Regions from separate parts of the Homo sapiens genome. Here all the other regions are linked to region 3. The links are contacts of gene promoters, found by promoter capture Hi-C in blood cells and fetal thymus (Javierre and others, 2016). All regions are on one chromosome and are shown on one strand. Each heading gives the region's core, a stretch centred on a gene start or on the middle of the fragment in contact. The rest is flanking DNA. Distances are from core to core; before and after follow the strand shown.

What was found. Contacts are between HindIII fragments. The CHiCAGO score rates a contact against its expected background, and 5 or more counts as called.
Region 1: a fragment that was not itself captured here is called in contact with the fragment with the promoter of MTCH1 in region 3 in 2 of 17 cell types (erythroblasts and megakaryocytes); the score reaches 7.0 in erythroblasts.
Region 2: a contact is called between a fragment that was not itself captured here and the fragment with the promoter of MTCH1 in region 3, in 1 of 17 cell types (erythroblasts). The highest score is 5.3, in erythroblasts.
Region 4: a contact is called between a fragment that was not itself captured here and the fragment with the promoter of MTCH1 in region 3, in 1 of 17 cell types (erythroblasts). The highest score is 6.2, in erythroblasts.

Annotation. Positions count from the first base shown.
Region 1 is chr6:37,301,542-37,305,494 of GRCh38, forward strand. All of the region lies in intron 8 of TBC1D22B (TBC1 domain family member 22B), which reads left to right. Among named protein-coding and RNA genes, the nearest start is that of TMEM217B, 45 kb to the left of the region's middle. RefSeq lists a silencer at 2,640-2,689. The HindIII fragment of the contact is 1,731 bases long and covers 1,306-3,036 here.
Region 2 is chr6:37,281,574-37,285,625 of GRCh38, forward strand. It overlaps TBC1D22B (TBC1 domain family member 22B), which reads left to right. Exons shown (of 13, transcript NM_017772.4): 4 at 612-791; 5 at 1,309-1,379; 6 at 2,763-2,891. Among named protein-coding and RNA genes, the nearest start is that of TMEM217B, 25 kb to the left of the region's middle. The HindIII fragment of the contact is 1,538 bases long and covers 1,775-3,312 here.
Region 3 is chr6:36,983,704-36,987,750 of GRCh38, forward strand. MTCH1 (mitochondrial carrier 1) reads right to left here and starts at 2,493. Exons shown (of 12, transcript NM_001271641.2): 1 at 2,150-2,493. The coding sequence starts at 2,470. RefSeq lists enhancers at 2,047-2,769, 2,888-3,097 and a silencer at 2,208-2,797. The HindIII fragment of the contact is 16,171 bases long and covers 908-4,047 here.
Region 4 is chr6:37,318,292-37,322,446 of GRCh38, forward strand. All of the region lies in intron 12 of TBC1D22B (TBC1 domain family member 22B), which reads left to right. Among named protein-coding and RNA genes, the nearest start is that of RNF8, 34 kb to the right of the region's middle. The HindIII fragment of the contact is 6,431 bases long and covers 1-4,155 here.

The DNA.
Region 1 (3,953 bases), core at 921-3,420, 320 kb after region 3:
ATTCATTCATGTTGTAGCACGTGTCAGTACTTCATTCTTTTCTATGGCCAAATATTCTATTATATGGATGTACTACATCTTATTTACCTGTCAGTTGCTGGATATAAATTAAATTCCAAAGAAATACAGACTTCTCCCCACCCTCACACCTTTCTTGAACAGAGATAGATACAACATTGTGGCCAGCAAGCATCATTTTTTTGTCTGGGCAATGATGCTTCTCTTCTCTACTTCTCTCATGTTGGCGTATCTGGATGAGGCAGCTGCTGTCAAAGGTTTTTTGCTATGGCCCTCCTGGTGTGACTCTCCCTACTGTAGGAAGCCTCAAGTATCTTTCTCATGGAACAGGCCAGCAGTTGCCCTCATTATCCTGGGTAGGTCTCTCCAGGCATCCTTACCCCACTGCCCCATCTCACTGAATCATAGCATAGGGGATCTGCCCTAGTGGAGCCGTGGGGTCCACATGCCACTGGGACATTATTTGGCTTCTCTCATATCTCTTCCCCTACCTATTCTCTACCACCTCTATCACTTTTAAAAATTAGTACCTGAGCCTGCTTCATGCTTTATGTTATGTTTGTTGTAAAGTAGTTGGAAACAGTGAGTTCCAGTGATTCCCCTGTGAGTTGATAGAGAAGTTGTCTATAGCTCTAGCCTTGCCCCCAAGCAGCTTCTTTATCTGCTGAAGCCAGCTGCTCCTGTAAAAGTGGGTCCTCTGCAGATAAGCCAGCTGTGTCTGGGTCTAGTGGTGACAGTGCTGCAGGTGGGGAGGTCACCCCTGGGGAGATAAAGTCTCTGGAATCTTATCTCTGAGACTGTGGTATAATTCTAAACTCTTTCCTCCAAGAGCTTTTAGGCTTAGGCAATATTAGTCTAGCTCTGAACTACTGAGGTCCAATATAATTGACCATGCAGCCATCATCAAAATAAACTGCTTAACAGGAACAACAGAAGTGATTCATATAAGGAAGTCATGGAGAAGAGCAGGACTTATGATGTTTCCTATTTTCAAAAGAAGAGTGGTGTCTGATGATATTTTTAGGTACAAAATGCAACACCAATTATCAAGTAACCTTTTCTCTTTTCCTTTGCATAAAACAGCACAGTAGGATTTTCACCGTAGATTTTACCTGGAAGCATGACAGCAGTGGAACTCTCGGAAAGGAAGTCCTCCGCAGACCTCTGACTTGTGTCCGGTTCCCTACATGGCATTTCCACCTGATTATGTCATAGATGATCACTTAGGATTAGCTAGGCTGCACATAACAGGGAACCCAAGTAACAGTTCCTTAAGTAAGATAGAAAAGCTTATTTCTCTCACATTAAAAGTCCAGAGGTGAGTGATCTGGGGCTTATCTGCTGCTCCAAAATATCAGAGATCCAGGTTGCTCTCTCTCATTCTGCAGTCTTCAGCATGTGGTTTCTTTCTCATGATCCAAGAGCTGTTTGTGCTCCAGCCATCACATCAATATTCCAGCCAGTATGGAGAAGGAAAGGAAGCAAGGCATACTTCTTCTGTTTAAGAACATTTCTGAAAGCTGTGCATGACTCTGGGGCTTGATTCTCTTTTGTTTGAACTTAATCTCGTGGGCACACCTAGCAGCAAGTGAGGCTGAGAAACAGTCTGTCTTAGGTGGCCAATACACTTAGGGGTCCTGTCACCAAGGAGGAAGAAGGGAACAGTTATTTTTAGGCAATCTTTGCTATTCTTAGGCTCCTCAGACTCGGTGTTTGGCTCTTCTCCTTCCCTTACCCAGGCACCCTTTTCTCTTAGTTGGCAGTATTTCCTGTCACTTAAGTCAGAAATGCTAAGAATTGTTCATGATTCTGTTTCCTTACTCTTCCATATCCAATCATTTACAAAGCTCTGGTGATTTTACGTCCTAAATGTTTCTTAATCTGCTTCTTCTTCATTCTCACTATGCACGCCCTAGGTCAGGCCTGGATTGCTGAACCAGCCAAGCATGTTTTCTCACCCCCGGTTTTATCTCCTTCAAACCCATCTTGCACACCATTCAAACAGAGACTCGCCCACAGAACTCCTCTGACAAAAATCCTTCCTTAGCATTCCATCACCTATAGGTTAAATGTCCAGGTTTTCTAACTTGGCATGTAAAGGCCCTGTGACCTGCTCCCTGCTTCGCCCCTTAAACTCAACAATCCAAAATGGACATTGTAAATGTAAAGCCTTGTCCTGCACCACCTCTTTATCTCCTGAGCTAATCTTTGTGCACCCTTTAAGACTCCCCTTCCTCCTAGAAGCCTTCCCTGGGGTCCCCCTGACCCCCGGCATCTAATAGTGCTATTTCTGTCACTCTGTAGATTTCTCCTGTGGCACTTTACCTCGCTAGTTGTTTGTGTTTCCCTCCTACTCTCTGCCACCAGACTTTCTGATTCTTTGAGGCCAAAGAGTATTTTAAACATCTTCATATCCCCAGTACCTTCATTTTGGTGTCCAAAATAGGCATTCCACACATGTCCAGATGAATGAGAGAATGAAAATTCCATAACTGCAGAATACTCAGAAATTAGTACAGCTTCACTAGGCTTGGCCACTGGAGGGCAGTGAGTTACACTTTTCTGATACTGTGCTGAATTAGCCGAAAGTTCTCTCTCCCCTAAGGGATGGAGGTGGAGCACCACCACTTAGTCAACAAGTCTTTGATGAGCACCCACATGTGCAGGGCACTGCTCTAGGCACTGGGGTTTATGACCATAAACGAAGTAGACAAAAACCCTGCCTTCTACTTCTAGGTATTTATTCAAGGAAAATGAAGGCTTATAGCCCCAAAAGACATGCACAAACATATTCACAGCAACTTTATACAGACATAAAATGAAACAACCCTAATATCAGCTAATATGAGAACAGATATCCATACCACAGAGCAGTACTCAGCAATAAATGAGAACGTACTATTAGTAGTACAGCAACATGGAAGAGTCTCAGAAACCATGAAACAGAATGAAAGAAGCCAGATACCAAAAAATATATATATTGTATGATTCACATTATATGGAGTTAAAAATAGGTAAAGCTTATCTATGGCGATAGAAATGAGAGCAAAGTTTACCTATGGTGGGAGGTGGGCTGAGAATGAGCATAAGGAAACATTTCCGGGGTGATGGAAATATTCTCTATTTGGATGGGGGCATTTTTTTTTTAAACCATAGACATAAACATGTGTCAAGACTCATAGAACTGTGCACATATGTGCAGTTTACTATGCGTAATTCTACTTTTTTAAAAAAATCGCTTTCTTAGTTTAATTTCTGGTGGGCAGAAACAGACAATCAACTGAAAAAACAGATATTTGTAGGATTGAGATAAGTGCTATGGATAGAAACAAAGCAAGAAAGAGGGACAGGGATGTGCCATGCTGGCAAGTGTGGGAGCAGGAGGCAGGTTTTAAACCGGGTGGTGAGCCGCCTTCACACTGAGGAGATGACATTTGAGCAGAGCCCTGAAGGAGGTAAGGGAGGGAGCTGTGCAGTTAATTTTTGATAGTCAACACTCACATTTTCAAAGAAAAGGTAGTGTGGATCCTGTTGTCTTGTCTTGCTCCTGGGCTGTTGTGGATTGTGCTCGCCCCCCACGCTCAGTCCTGGGAGGCGGCATCCTCCATCTTACATCTGACTCTTTGCATCAGCTTTGCCCAGTCTGTTCCTCCCTGTCTGGCTAGGCCAAAGATGAAACTGGACAAACTTTATTATTGTCTCAAGAGGCCATTCCTTTTCTGCTTTTTAAAATGTGAACTTCATATTAAATCATACATTTAGAAAAGTGCATCTGTCATACATGCACAGTTCGATGAATTTCCCCAAAATAACCAGCACTCACAGCAAGACGTGGAACGTTTCTAGGACTTCAGAAGTCCCTTTGTGTTCCCTCCTAGTCCCTACCCCGTCCTCTCCTCCCCTGCCCCTACAAGGGTAACTACTTTACTGATTTC
Region 2 (4,052 bases), core at 1,294-3,793, 300 kb after region 3:
GCCAAGAACCGGGTACAGGATGTGCGGGGATATTGATCCTTTTAGTCCTTGGAGCAGCTGGGGGTTCTGGGGCTTGTGGAGAGCAACCACCTCCATTTATTGCAGCCTTGTGCTTTGTGGTGTCATCTGCAGTGTCATCATTCCTTATGTGCTCTGTGGTGTGGAATGGGAAGGAAAACACTGCCTTAGACTAAACTAAACTCACTATTTGGCACCAAGAAAAGTTCCAAGTTAGGGTAGAAAGAAAACATTTGATTTTCCTTTAGAGTCACCAAAAAAGTTCTCAAAAGTTGCTGCAGCATCTGGAGTCTCTGTTAGCACCTTTAGAGTCACCAAAAAAGTTCTCAAAAGTTGCTGCAGCATCTGGCGTCTCTGTTACCACCTAAGGTGCCTTGGTGTGTTTGATATAAATGCAGCCCTTTCTCTGGGCAGTGAATGGGGTGTGGCTGGGTTCTGGCCCCTCGCTGCCCTTCAGCTGGGCACCTCAGACAGTGCACACAGGCAGCCACACCCTTGGGGAGGAAACACAATGCTGAACGGTTAGGTTTAAGGCTTCTCAGAATCCATACTCCTCACACAGCCCGTTCTCTTTCTTTTTCAAATGATCTCAGGTGATACATGCCTGAGGAACCCACTCCACAAACAGCAATCACTCCCTCTCCGGCCCATCATCCCCCTCGTTGCCCGGATCTCGGATCAGAACGCTTCTGGGGCCCCCCCAATGACTGTCCGGGAGAAAACCCGCCTAGAAAAATTCCGTCAACTTCTCTCCAGCCAGAACACTGACTTAGGTGAGTCCCTGTGAGCCCAGGCAAGGTAGGAGCTTTGGGTGACTGGAATTCTCAGAGACCTGGAAGCTACTGCTCTTTATTCTTCCTTCTTTTACTTTTCTAGCTTCTCCTGACCTGGTGCCCATTGCAGTGACATGCAGGTATTAAGTCAGACATATGTTACTAGAGATTATGGACCAAATTAGGTGGGACTGGTTTCTGTGGCCTGTAGACCCTAGTGCAACTATTCTGACTTTGGTCTTCCTTATCTCAAGGTGACTCTTACTGAAATCTACACCCACTGGTCTTTCCCTTCCCCTCTAACTTTCATCTCTGAGCTGACAGGACTGCTACTGCAAGGCCGTGTCCTTGGCACTTAGCTGCTCGGGGCTGTTTTGGGCTTTTCACTGTGCTTATGGGTAGCAGGTGGTGGTGGTGGTCTTACATGGATGGAAGGAGACATCAGGCAGTGCTGGTTGCGGTTTGCTTTAGAGCATTTGTGGAGAGTTAACCTAACAAGGCTGTTTTCTATTTACAGATGAACTGAGGAAGTGTAGCTGGCCAGGGGTTCCCAGGGAGGTTCGACCTATAACCTGGAGACTCCTGTCGGTGAGTTCTACCCACTGTGTAGAGAAATGTGAGCCTCACACAGCCCTTCTTGCCTGATGAGGTTAGTCTGGACACATTGGTCTTAACTCCATAGACTTCTCTAGTCCTACTGGATATGACAGAACTATGGGACTATAGTCCTATTTCTGTGCATAAAGAAATACATTCTTGAGAGTTTATTCACACACATGTAGTGGTACACAGACTTGTACCAATAGTCATGGTGTCATGTTCTTAACAGCGAGGAAGAAGAATAGAGTGAGATAGGGTGATCCCAGCACTTGCTTTGAGTAAGCTCCAACGTTCCCTGTGCTTCACTCCTGTTTCAGCCGGAATAACCAAAAGTTGAAACCCACTTTGATCTGTGAAGAGTTGATAAATTGGCCTCCCTTGGAAGCTTTACTAGTCCTGCTTTCACCAAGTACAGAGCACTGTGCCAGCCGCTATGATAGAAACACTTGGGTTTCCTGAGCCTGTAAAATTCATTCATTCATCTAGTGAGGATTTATTGAGAGCCTGCTGTTTGCCAGGCATAGTGCCAGATGCTTTGAGCAGATGCAAAAATGAATAAACCACAGTCCCCACTCTCCAGGCACTCACTGCAGAATGCATTACATAAATGTTTTCAAGAAGAAGGGTCTGTCTCCTGACTGCTCGCCCCCACCTCTACTCTTGCAACCATGCAATCATTGCCTCTGCCACTTCTAATAAGTTTGAATACTATTCAGAGTAGATTTGGTGAGAACGGAAGGGGAACAGAAAATATAAGAATGAGAGTGGGATCTAGACCAGGGATAAGAATGAAAGTTGGCCTGGAGCTTTGGCTAGGCCGGGGGCTGCTGCCAGAAGTTCTGTCTGAGTGTTGTAGCTGTATGTCACAGATTCCATTCAGCTGCTTCCTAAGCTGGTAATTCTGAAAGTTACACTGGAAAAGAATGTAACTGGCACCAACTTACTTGGCACACTGCTGAGATGTGCTGTAGAGGTTGCTATATCCCTGCATTTCTCAGAAGTATGGCCCTGGACACACACAGCCCTCCGAGGCCATGACTTGGGTCCAGCTCCCTCCCACTGACCTACATTCACTGCTGTACTGTGCCAGCTCTGGGAGCTGAGGAGTGCTCACCAGTGGCACAAGCTCCAGCACAGTGCAGGGCCAAGGGAGTAAATAATCCTGGGAAAGCTGGCCTTGCTTCATCTGCTCACATGTGGATCTCATTGAATGAGGAGAGGGCAAAAAATGGGTGGCCAGAACCAAAAAGGGATTTACCCTTGGCAGTTTTCCTTCTTGGTAGTTTCCAAACCACTGCATAGATTAAAATAAAAATTAAGGATTTATCCAACCATTGTCTTTCCCCATCTGACCAGCAGTCTTGTCTATAGGGCTATCTCCCAGCAAACACTGAGAGGAGGAAGTTGACCCTGCAGCGGAAGCGGGAGGAATATTTTGGCTTCATTGAACAGTATTATGACTCTCGAAACGAGGAACATCACCAGGATACCTACAGACAGGTACAGTCACCACCTGCTGCCTCTTTGCTTACCAGTCATATACTTTAGGTATGTCTCATGGTAGTGCTCTCAGGGTACAGGCTTTCCAAGTCTTCAGGCTGTGGTATATTGGTTAGGAGTTAAATTTATCCTCAAAACTGTTTCCCCTCTTTTCATTCAGCAACTCTGATTTTAGCCATTTTAAATAGACAGACTTTTTTGGCACTAGTCAGTGCACTGCTTCTCAAACTTTAATGTACATACAAATCACCTAGGATCTTGATAAGATCTCACCTAGAGATTATGAGAAAATGCAGATTCTGATTTAGCAGGTCTCAGGTAAAGCCTGAAGTTCTGATGTGCTCCCTTGCAATGCTGCTGCTGCTGGTCCACCAACCACACTGTGAGTAGTAAGCGTTATCGAGCATGGAGAGGAAAGACAAGCTTACCTAGCCGTGGTCCAGTCCCTCTGGACTATGACATCAGTATGTCTTCCTGGCAGCTGCACTGCTGTTTTGGCATCTGTGACTGTAGGAGCTGTAGCTTTCAGTAGTCTTGTCAGGGAGTCTTCTGTCATTGCCCATAATGGTCCTCATGGTCTGCGGAAAGGTCTGCTCCCAACATCACATGTGGAGGGAGGAGAAGAGTAGGCCAGGGGTTGCAGAAAGTGGAAGGTGGGCAGCTATTTACAACAAGCCTCAAGAACTGAAGTAGCCTCTGCTGCTGCTGCTGCTGACACAGTCTTTTGCATAGTTAGACTGGGCACTGGGAAATCCCTGAGTTGAAATGGACTATAGTGATGTCTTAGGTAACAGAAGTAAGAACTTTCAGCTTCAGTTACTGAAGGCCAACTCCTTTTGGTCCTTCCCCACTTTTTTTTTTTTTTTTTTTTTTTTTTTGAGATGGAGTCTCACTCTGTCGTCCAGGCTGGAGTGCAGTGGCGTGATCTTGGCTCACTGCAGCCCCCACCTCCTGGATTCAGGTGATTCTCCTGCCTCGGCTTCCTGAGTAGCTGGGATTACAGGCATGTGCCACCAGGCCCGGCTAATTTTTTCTTTATCTTTTTTGAGACCGAGTCTTTTTCTGTCACTTAGGCTGGAGTGCAGTGGCGCAATCTCGGCTTGCTCCAGCCTTTGTCCGCTGGGTTCCAGCGATTCTCCTGCCTCACCCTCCTGGATAGCT
Region 3 (4,047 bases), core at 1,243-3,742:
AAACCTGACAGCCACATGCACTAATCTAAGGCACTGCATTCTTACGCACCTAATCTAGACAATCCCCAAATCTGTCACTCCACTCCTGACACCCCCACTCCCAGTAATTTGCCTTTCTGCAAGTTATTACTCTGATTCCCAAACTATACCCATTGAAGATCTTACCCTAATATATGTTACACTCAACACCAGCTGGGTTCAAATCAGACAGGCACCTCTGGTCCTTCAACAGGGCTCATCCATCCTTACCTGCCCACCATCTAGTTCTTCTCACGCTTTGGTGTCCTTCATTCCCCCATTCCCTTCCCAAACCACCCTCATTTCAATGTTCTTTCAAACCAGATCTGCCATCATCCAAATGATGAAGCCACTTCTTCATTTCCCTCACACTGAGCCCTTGTGCTCCAGTATCCTTCACTCCACAGACTCTCCCACCTGTGCCCTAAAATCCTAGCCCTCACTCAGTCTCATTCCATCAGTTTCCAGAACCCTCACTTCTCAGGTCCAAAGCACCAATTTATCTCCCAAACTTCAAGTTCAACTGCTGTAAATACAATCTTAACCCTGTAAGACAGCCCTCATTCCCAAATCACAACCAAATGCCAGTCTGGTCTACACCTTCCGCCATCAACAATTTTCAAATCTGTCACAATTAGGGTCTAGTCAGGCACCTTGATGCCCCTGACTGAATCTCCTCATTCCTTGTCATATTCCTGGTCACACCCACAAATCTATTACCATTCCTCGGATCCCAGATTTCAATTACTCTCATTCTCAAGGCCTTCTCATTCCAGTTGTATTTTGCATTCTCTCGGTTCAATTATAAAGATGGTAAAATCTGACACCCACCTGCCTCAACTCAAATCTTGGATGGGTCTCCAATTCAATTTTTACCTTCCTCCCCCCAAGCTTCTTAACTGGAAAATTCTGGCCTAATGACCCCCATCAAAACTGTACCCATCCCAGCCACACCCACCTAATTCTCACACCTCCACACGCCCTTCATTCCAGCTCACTCCTCAAGCAGCACACTTCATCTGTACCGCATTGCTGGCCACCACCAAATCTGCCAAGTGCCTATGCATCCCTCTGTTCCAGAGACATCCCTACCTCGGTCTCAATTTCTGGTAGTCCCTACCTATCCTGCCACCTATGTCTCCACTGTCCCTTCTGCCCAATTTCAATACTCCCGTGCCCCTTCTCCTCATCTGCCCAGATACAAGCACTGTGATTCCTCTCTCTGACCCCAACTATGACTTCCATTTCCTCCTCCAAATGCGTCATCCCCCTTCCCCGCTTAAAGCCTCCTCCTAGCTCCCCTCTCTAGACAAATCGCTGCCACTCCCCTCCCCCAATGCTGGCCCTATCTGTTCCCCTCCCCCCATACGCGTCACCCTGTCCCCTCCTCCTACCAAATCCGTCGTCGCCATCAAATCCAGAGCCCCCATCTCCGGTAAACCGATAGCATTCCCCTGCAAAAGTCTTTGCCTTCGCACTCTCCCACCAAATTAAATCACAATGCAACCCAAGACCTCCGTCTCCTCTGTCCACCCCCAGTCTGGTGTCCTTCTTTCCCTCCTAAATTTCTGGCCCTGGCGCCCACTTTGTCCCCACCCCAAGACGTTTTAAATCCATCTCTATCAAATCCAGAGCCTCCGTTCCCCTCTACCCCAATTATGTGCTCCTCATTCTCTAAACACTTTGCCTGGGCCCCCAACCTTCCTCCCCATCTCTTCACCCAAACTTCTTGCCCCTCCCCCAATTCTATTGCTTCTTCCCTCGCCCCAAATTCGCTCCCTTCCCTATCCCAAGTCCATCGTCCCCACTCCTTTATCTCCCAAATATGTTTTTCCAGCCCATCGCTCCCTCCTTGGCACTCCCCCAAATCGCTTGTTCCTTCCACCCTCTCCCGTATCTGTTATTACTCTAACCCCTTGGTCTCCTTTCTGTATCCTAAAACCCGTGACCCCTGCGTTCCCAACTCCCTCACGGCTTCCCTCCCATCCCACCCACTCGGCCCCCCAAACCCGCCGTCCCCACCCCTCTCCCCAAATCCGTCGCCATTGACTGCCCGCCCCAATCCTCCAAATCCTGGCCTGTCACCTTCACATCAGCCTCCCATCTCCCTACGGCGCCTCTGGTCCCCCACCTGGATGAGCAGCTTCACGTAGAGCAGGGGATGGCTGAGCGCCGTCACGCCCGCGCCCAGTGCCACGAAAAGAGCCTCAGTGGTCGGGGCGTTGTCCCCAGACCCCAGGCCCCCTGACCCGCCATCCATCCTGCGGGCCGAGGGCTGAGCCGCAGGCCGAGGGTGGCGAGGATGTGCGCGGTGCGCGGGCGGTGGATCGCGAGCTCGAGCCTCGACCCCCGCCGCCGCTCCGCCGCGAGCTCCGGCTCCAGCTCCGGCTCCCGCCATCCCCGCGGCACCGCCGCGAGCCCAGGGCGCCACTTCCGGGTCCGAAGCTCCCATGGCGCCCGGCGGCGAGGTCACTCCCCGTCACGTGACGGGGCCACGCCCCCTCACCGGCGTCAGGGGGCGGGGCCGGGGCGCACCACTCCAGGCCGCGGGGGAGCTCGGGAGCGTGGTGCGGCGGGTGGGACACGCCGGATGTGGCTCCCCGGCCGGTTGGAGGCCTAGCAGGACACTGGGCTGCGGGCCGGGGGTCAATGGTGGCGGGCAGCCGGGGCCCCGGGCTCGGGAGCTGTGGCGGCAGCCGCAGGCCGGGGCGCTCCCCCGGGATGCCCAGAGCACGCGGGGGCGGGGTTCGGCGCCTCTGGCTGCCAGACGTCCCCAATATGGTCTGAGGCGCTTCCAAGCCACCTCCCTGGCTTCGGGAGTTTTCTCTGCAGTTCTCTGCCCGCCCCTTTGCGGCCCAGATCCCAGTCGCCGCGGCCTGCGTGGAACTCTGCGCGAGCTGAATCTCCTGCTGCAGGACGAGCCCCGACCCCGAGCCCGATCCCCTCCGCGGTCCCAGCCTCTTTGTCCGATCGCATTTTCCATCTCCTCTGCCAGGAATGCTCTCCCAACCAGAGCAAATCCAGATGTCCCCTCGGCGACTGTGGGCACCCTCCCCAGCTGTGGAGCCTTCGCACGCCTTCCTCAGAGTCCGTGGTTGTAAAATTTGTTTTGCTCTAAAGTATTTGACTGTCTCCCTCACTAGATCCTGAGGGTTTTAGTGAGTGCCTCAGTGTGAGCACATGCAGGCACTGCTAGGCGCCTGTAGTTGATTCTTAGTTAATACAAGTGAATAATCACAACTAGACCTTAAATTGCAGGGACTATGTGACAGGCACTTTTTAAAATGCTTTATACGTGTTGATTTAAGTGTAATCGTCACAAGAACCCTGCGAGGAAGATAGGACAGCAAGTGCCCTGTTCCTGTTTGTAAACGTGCCCGACACTCTGCAACAACACCTACAACAGAACCGTGCTAGTTTTGGGGGTTCGCAATAAAAGTTTCTGTTTGAACGGATCCTAGAGTGTGCAGGGACACAGCAATGGAAGACCTGGTCCCTTTGTCTGTACTTAGTCTATAGCCAGTTCATTGTGAGAAATTTCTTTAGATCGACACCTGCCACTGTTAGTCCGGGTTTCCCAGTCTGTCCTTTCTAACTCCCTTCCTGCCTTACCCCCTAAAAAGCTACCTCCCCTCTTCCCACTCCTGATAATGAACACTATGTACTTTCCACGTTCAAAGCATGCCACACTCCCTCTCTCCCTCACCTTGGCCTCCCTAACCCAGGCTTGTCCTAGTGAAATCACTTGCAAAGCCTGCTAACCCTTTCAACTTGCTGTGTTTTCTCCATCAAACACAATTTTCATCAAACATCCCCCAGGAGCACCTTAAATGACTTCCTTTTGCCTAGGTTCTGATTTAGCTTTCTCAATAAGGACCTCAAAGTCAAGTTCCTAGTGCCACACTAACTCTCTACCCAGAAGAGGCGATAGGTTTTAGTTTGGGGGTGGGGGGTGGGGGTAGGGGAGGATGATTTACTTCCCCATCCTTCTGAAACTTCCTCACAGGAACCTTTTCCTTCTTTGGGCTT
Region 4 (4,155 bases), core at 1,236-3,735, 330 kb after region 3:
TACAACAGAAAGGGGTGAGTCTGGATGGCTTTACAGTTTATGGAGAAGGCTACAGGATGGCTTTATGGTTTATGGAGAAGGCTACAGTGGGGACAGCAAGAGTCCAGCTTCAGCCATATTGGATTTGAAGTACCATTAGACGTCTAAATAGAGATGCAGACTAGGCAAATATATCTTGAGTTTGGAGTTTGAAAGAGAGATCTGGACTGGACCTATAAATTTAGGAGCCTTTGCCTAGATGCTGCTTAAAGCCGACACACTGGATGAGATCCCTAAGGAAGTAAGGATGGACAGAGAAGGGGACCAGGGCCCAGCCTTGACACACTCTTATATGACTACATGAAGAGGTCAGGGAGCAGAGGTGGCTGAGAGGGGATGACCAGCAAGAGTACAGCCTCCTGGAACCCCTGGGTGGGGGTGCTTCAGAGTCCCTATGTAGAAAACTCAAGAAGGGCCTATGTTAGGTGGTGGGTAGGCTAGGAGCTGTTCCAGGGTCAGGGAAATAAGGATTGAGGAGATTGTCAGGCTCTCCAGAGAGAATCATTAGGGTTGGGGGTGGCGAGTGTATTGCTTTTATGCTTTGCACGTTTCTGAACTGAGAGGTTTTTTGGTTTGTTTGTTTTTAATAGGTATATACCTCTTTTAAAAGCAGGGGGAAAAGCCAGAGAAAGTTGAATGCTTTTCTAAGTTCTAACTAATAACATAGATGTTCTGAAGAGTGGCAGCGTCTCCATGTGATCCCTGAGCATTACCACTCTGTGATTGGTGTTAGGGGGCAAAAGAACAGAAGACTATTTAGTAGATAGATGGAAAGACAGGACCCAGCTTGCCCAAGTAAGGGCTTTGGAAGAAAAAGGAGAGCAGATGCATTGACTTCTGTGAGTAGATGCTAGCCATGGTGCCGAGGCTTCAGGCCACTGATTAAGAACCATGGCTTCTGCCAGTGAGCAGCATGTGTGGCATTCCAGGATAAATGAGGACAAGGGGCTGGAATGGCTGTATGCTGGGATGAGCTATCCATTTGGATAATGTGGTTGAGGTGGAGCCGGATAGTAAGAGCATGAAGTTTAATTTAGTTATCATGAGCCAGGCTCAGAGCTTTGCCATATGTGATAAAAGTGCTTCCCAGATCAGCTCAGGGAGGTGCAGATGATTCCTGGAATGGCTTTTAGCAGTTCACAATATCGGCAGAACAGAGGACAATACTCTGTGACTTTACAGCTATGTTAATCCTAGAGATATTCTTTACTGGGTAGCATTTTCAATTATCTGGTAGGTCTGAGGCCTTTTGGCAATACCCAACAGAACAGCATTGGAGGCTATTGTCTGCTGCTGTATTAACACCTCGATTAATCCTGTTTGTGGAAGAGTCTCACATCTTTCTTTTAGACAAAATAGAATGGGCGATTAAACTGGATAAGGTGAAAAGTTCCTCCCACCTCCATAGTTCTAAAATTCTATGAATGATAAAAGAAGAAAATGTGCCTGGGTGTTAGGCTAGACAGGCAGTGTCCTTTAGGAGACAGAATCATGGCAGAGGTGTGAGGAACAAGGGCACAAAGCATTGTGTAAGGTTGTGAACTGTTGGGTGTGACTTTTGCAGAGAAAGTAGGCACATGTATCCTAACTGCTGAAGGGCTGCTTGTAGTGAAATCACTGTGAAGGAAGCTCTGTAGATGAATACAGGTATTGTAAAAAACCAAACATGTCCAGCCTAGGAGAGAAGTTTTAGGGCTAAAAGCCACGTTAAGTGACTCAGAGAAAAACCAGCTGAAGTGGTTACAGAAATAAAAGTGGTAGTTGCAGCAGTTTTAGCAGACCAGCAAACTGGTTACACTTGAAGAACAGGGAAAAAGAGCCAGATATAAAGGGAGCCAGTAAGGGGTTCAGAGAGGAAGCAGATATCTTCCTGTCAAGGTTAGGGACTGTGCAGAGTAGTACAGTGGTTAAACCATGGTCTTTGGAGCCAGACTGCCTGGGGTCGGATCCCAGCTCTCACACTTTCCTAAACATGCAGCTGTAAGTAAGTAACTTGTTTCTCTGTGCCTCCGTTTTCTTATCTATAAATGGGGCAATAGTACCTACCTCCTTGGGCTATGATGAGAATAAAGAAACAAATACATGTGAGACAGTTAGAATAGTGTACTTGATATATAGACCTCGAAACAGTGAGCTTATTATCATTAATATTAATACTTCCTTTAGTGTATTCACGAGTCCTGGAAGCAATGAGGCGAGCTTTAAAAACCCACTTTTCTAATTAAGTGGTTTTTAACATAATGAGTAAACCATACAAGGTTCATACTGAGGGAAACTGGTTTGGAGAGGAGGCATCAGAGTACACAGGGGCAAAGGGCTGGGTCCCAGCTGCGACAAAAGCCCCCAGCAGGAAGGGTGCGTGCTTCTCCCTGGCCAAGCAGTTGTCTAGGGCCGCTGCCTGGCAGAGAGGACCAAAAACTGACAAAGGAGATCACACTGAGAGGTTTCCTTCCTGAGACCGCTGGGCAAAGGAGCCTGAGGCACATTTGCACATAGTACTCTGGGAGCAGAATGGCTGGATCCTCCGGGCCCGTGGCAGCTTGAAATGCGAGCTGCCAGCAGAGCTGGGCCAAAGCCTCTTTTGTGGTAGGTGGGGACTCTTGACAATTCCTGCCCTCAGCCTGGGCTAGTGTAATAGAATCATAATAATATGTTAGGTTGAATCATATGCAGTTGTTTTTGTAGATTAAAATGGTTGAATATTGGCAATTTCGTGAGGCTCAATCTAATAGCAGCTAATTCTTAGCACTTTGAATATACAGGCACTATTCTAAATGTTTTCCTGTGTTAATTCATTTCATCCTTGCAACAATCCTACAAGGTAGGCTATAATACCCCATTTTACAAATGGGGAAACTGTCATAGCAAGATTTTTTTTTTTTAAGTAACCAGGCCAAGGTCACCTGAGTGAGTGATAGAGGCCTGGAATCCACTCTCTGAACCACTGTGCTTTGCTGCCTGTCAGTCCCAGGCCTGCCAGATGCTTCCTGGAGCTCTTGAGCTAAACTTACATGGTGGCTGTTCCCAGGCAAGGATCTGCTTAGGTTTCCACCTCCCTCAAGATTTCTTCTTCCCCATCTCTCCCCCTACATTGGAGGTTGCTAGCAGGCTTTCTTCTCACAAAGAAACATTTAGCAACAACAACAAAAACTTGTTGTTTTAAAACTGAAAAAGAATTCCTCCCAGGGTCTTCCTTGTGACCTCCTCCTATTCTGGCTTCTGGGTTTTTCTCCTTCCACTGCCAGAAAGATCTGTGATCTCCTGCTGCCCTTTCATGCTCTCCCTCCAAGTGGCCTGAAATCACCTAACACACATCCCTGGGGAAAGCAGAGGCTCTAATGCTCCAGGGTGGACTGCAGCAGGGAGCCCCCAGGGCTGGTGCAGGTTATGGGTGAAGAGCAGCTCTGGGCCTGTCTGTGGAGTCCTAGAGCCTGCTTGGGCCCTTGTGGAGCTCTCAGGCTTCTGTTAGATCAGTGGCTGGGGAGGCCGTGTTGACTGGGGAGGAGCATGAGTCTCTGAGACACAAGAAGTGTTCTCTGTTTTCATCTGGGTGGTGGTTAATTGGGTGTGTACTTATGTAAAAAGTCATCAACCTGCATGCTTAAGATTTATGTCATGAGTCCACCCTCAAAAGGTTGGGAGGAAAGTAAATGGTGGAGACAATGTAAGAGCGCTCGAACCTACCTACCAAATAGACAAATAGATGTTTTCTACCCATTTTGATGTGGGTCATTTTTACATAATCACAATTCATTACCACCATGTACAGTTGTGTACTACTAAGGAAGTGAATGGAGCTTCTGTTACCCAGCAGTGAGCCTGAAGAGGACTGTATCTGCCCAGAGGACAGGGCCATCTGGGCTAGCAATAGGAGGCCTGTCAGGGCCTCCTGTTGCCACTCTGGTCCTAGAAAAAGGAATTAAGAGGCCAGGCACGGTGGCTTATGCCTGTAATCCCAGCACTTTGGGAGGCCACGGCAGGCAGATCACCTGAGGTCAGGAGTTCAAGACCAGCCTGGCCAACGTGGTGAAACTCCGTCAGCCAGGTGTGATGGCACACACCTGTAATCCCAGCTACTCGGGAAGCTGAGGCAGGAGAATCGCTTGAACCTGGGAG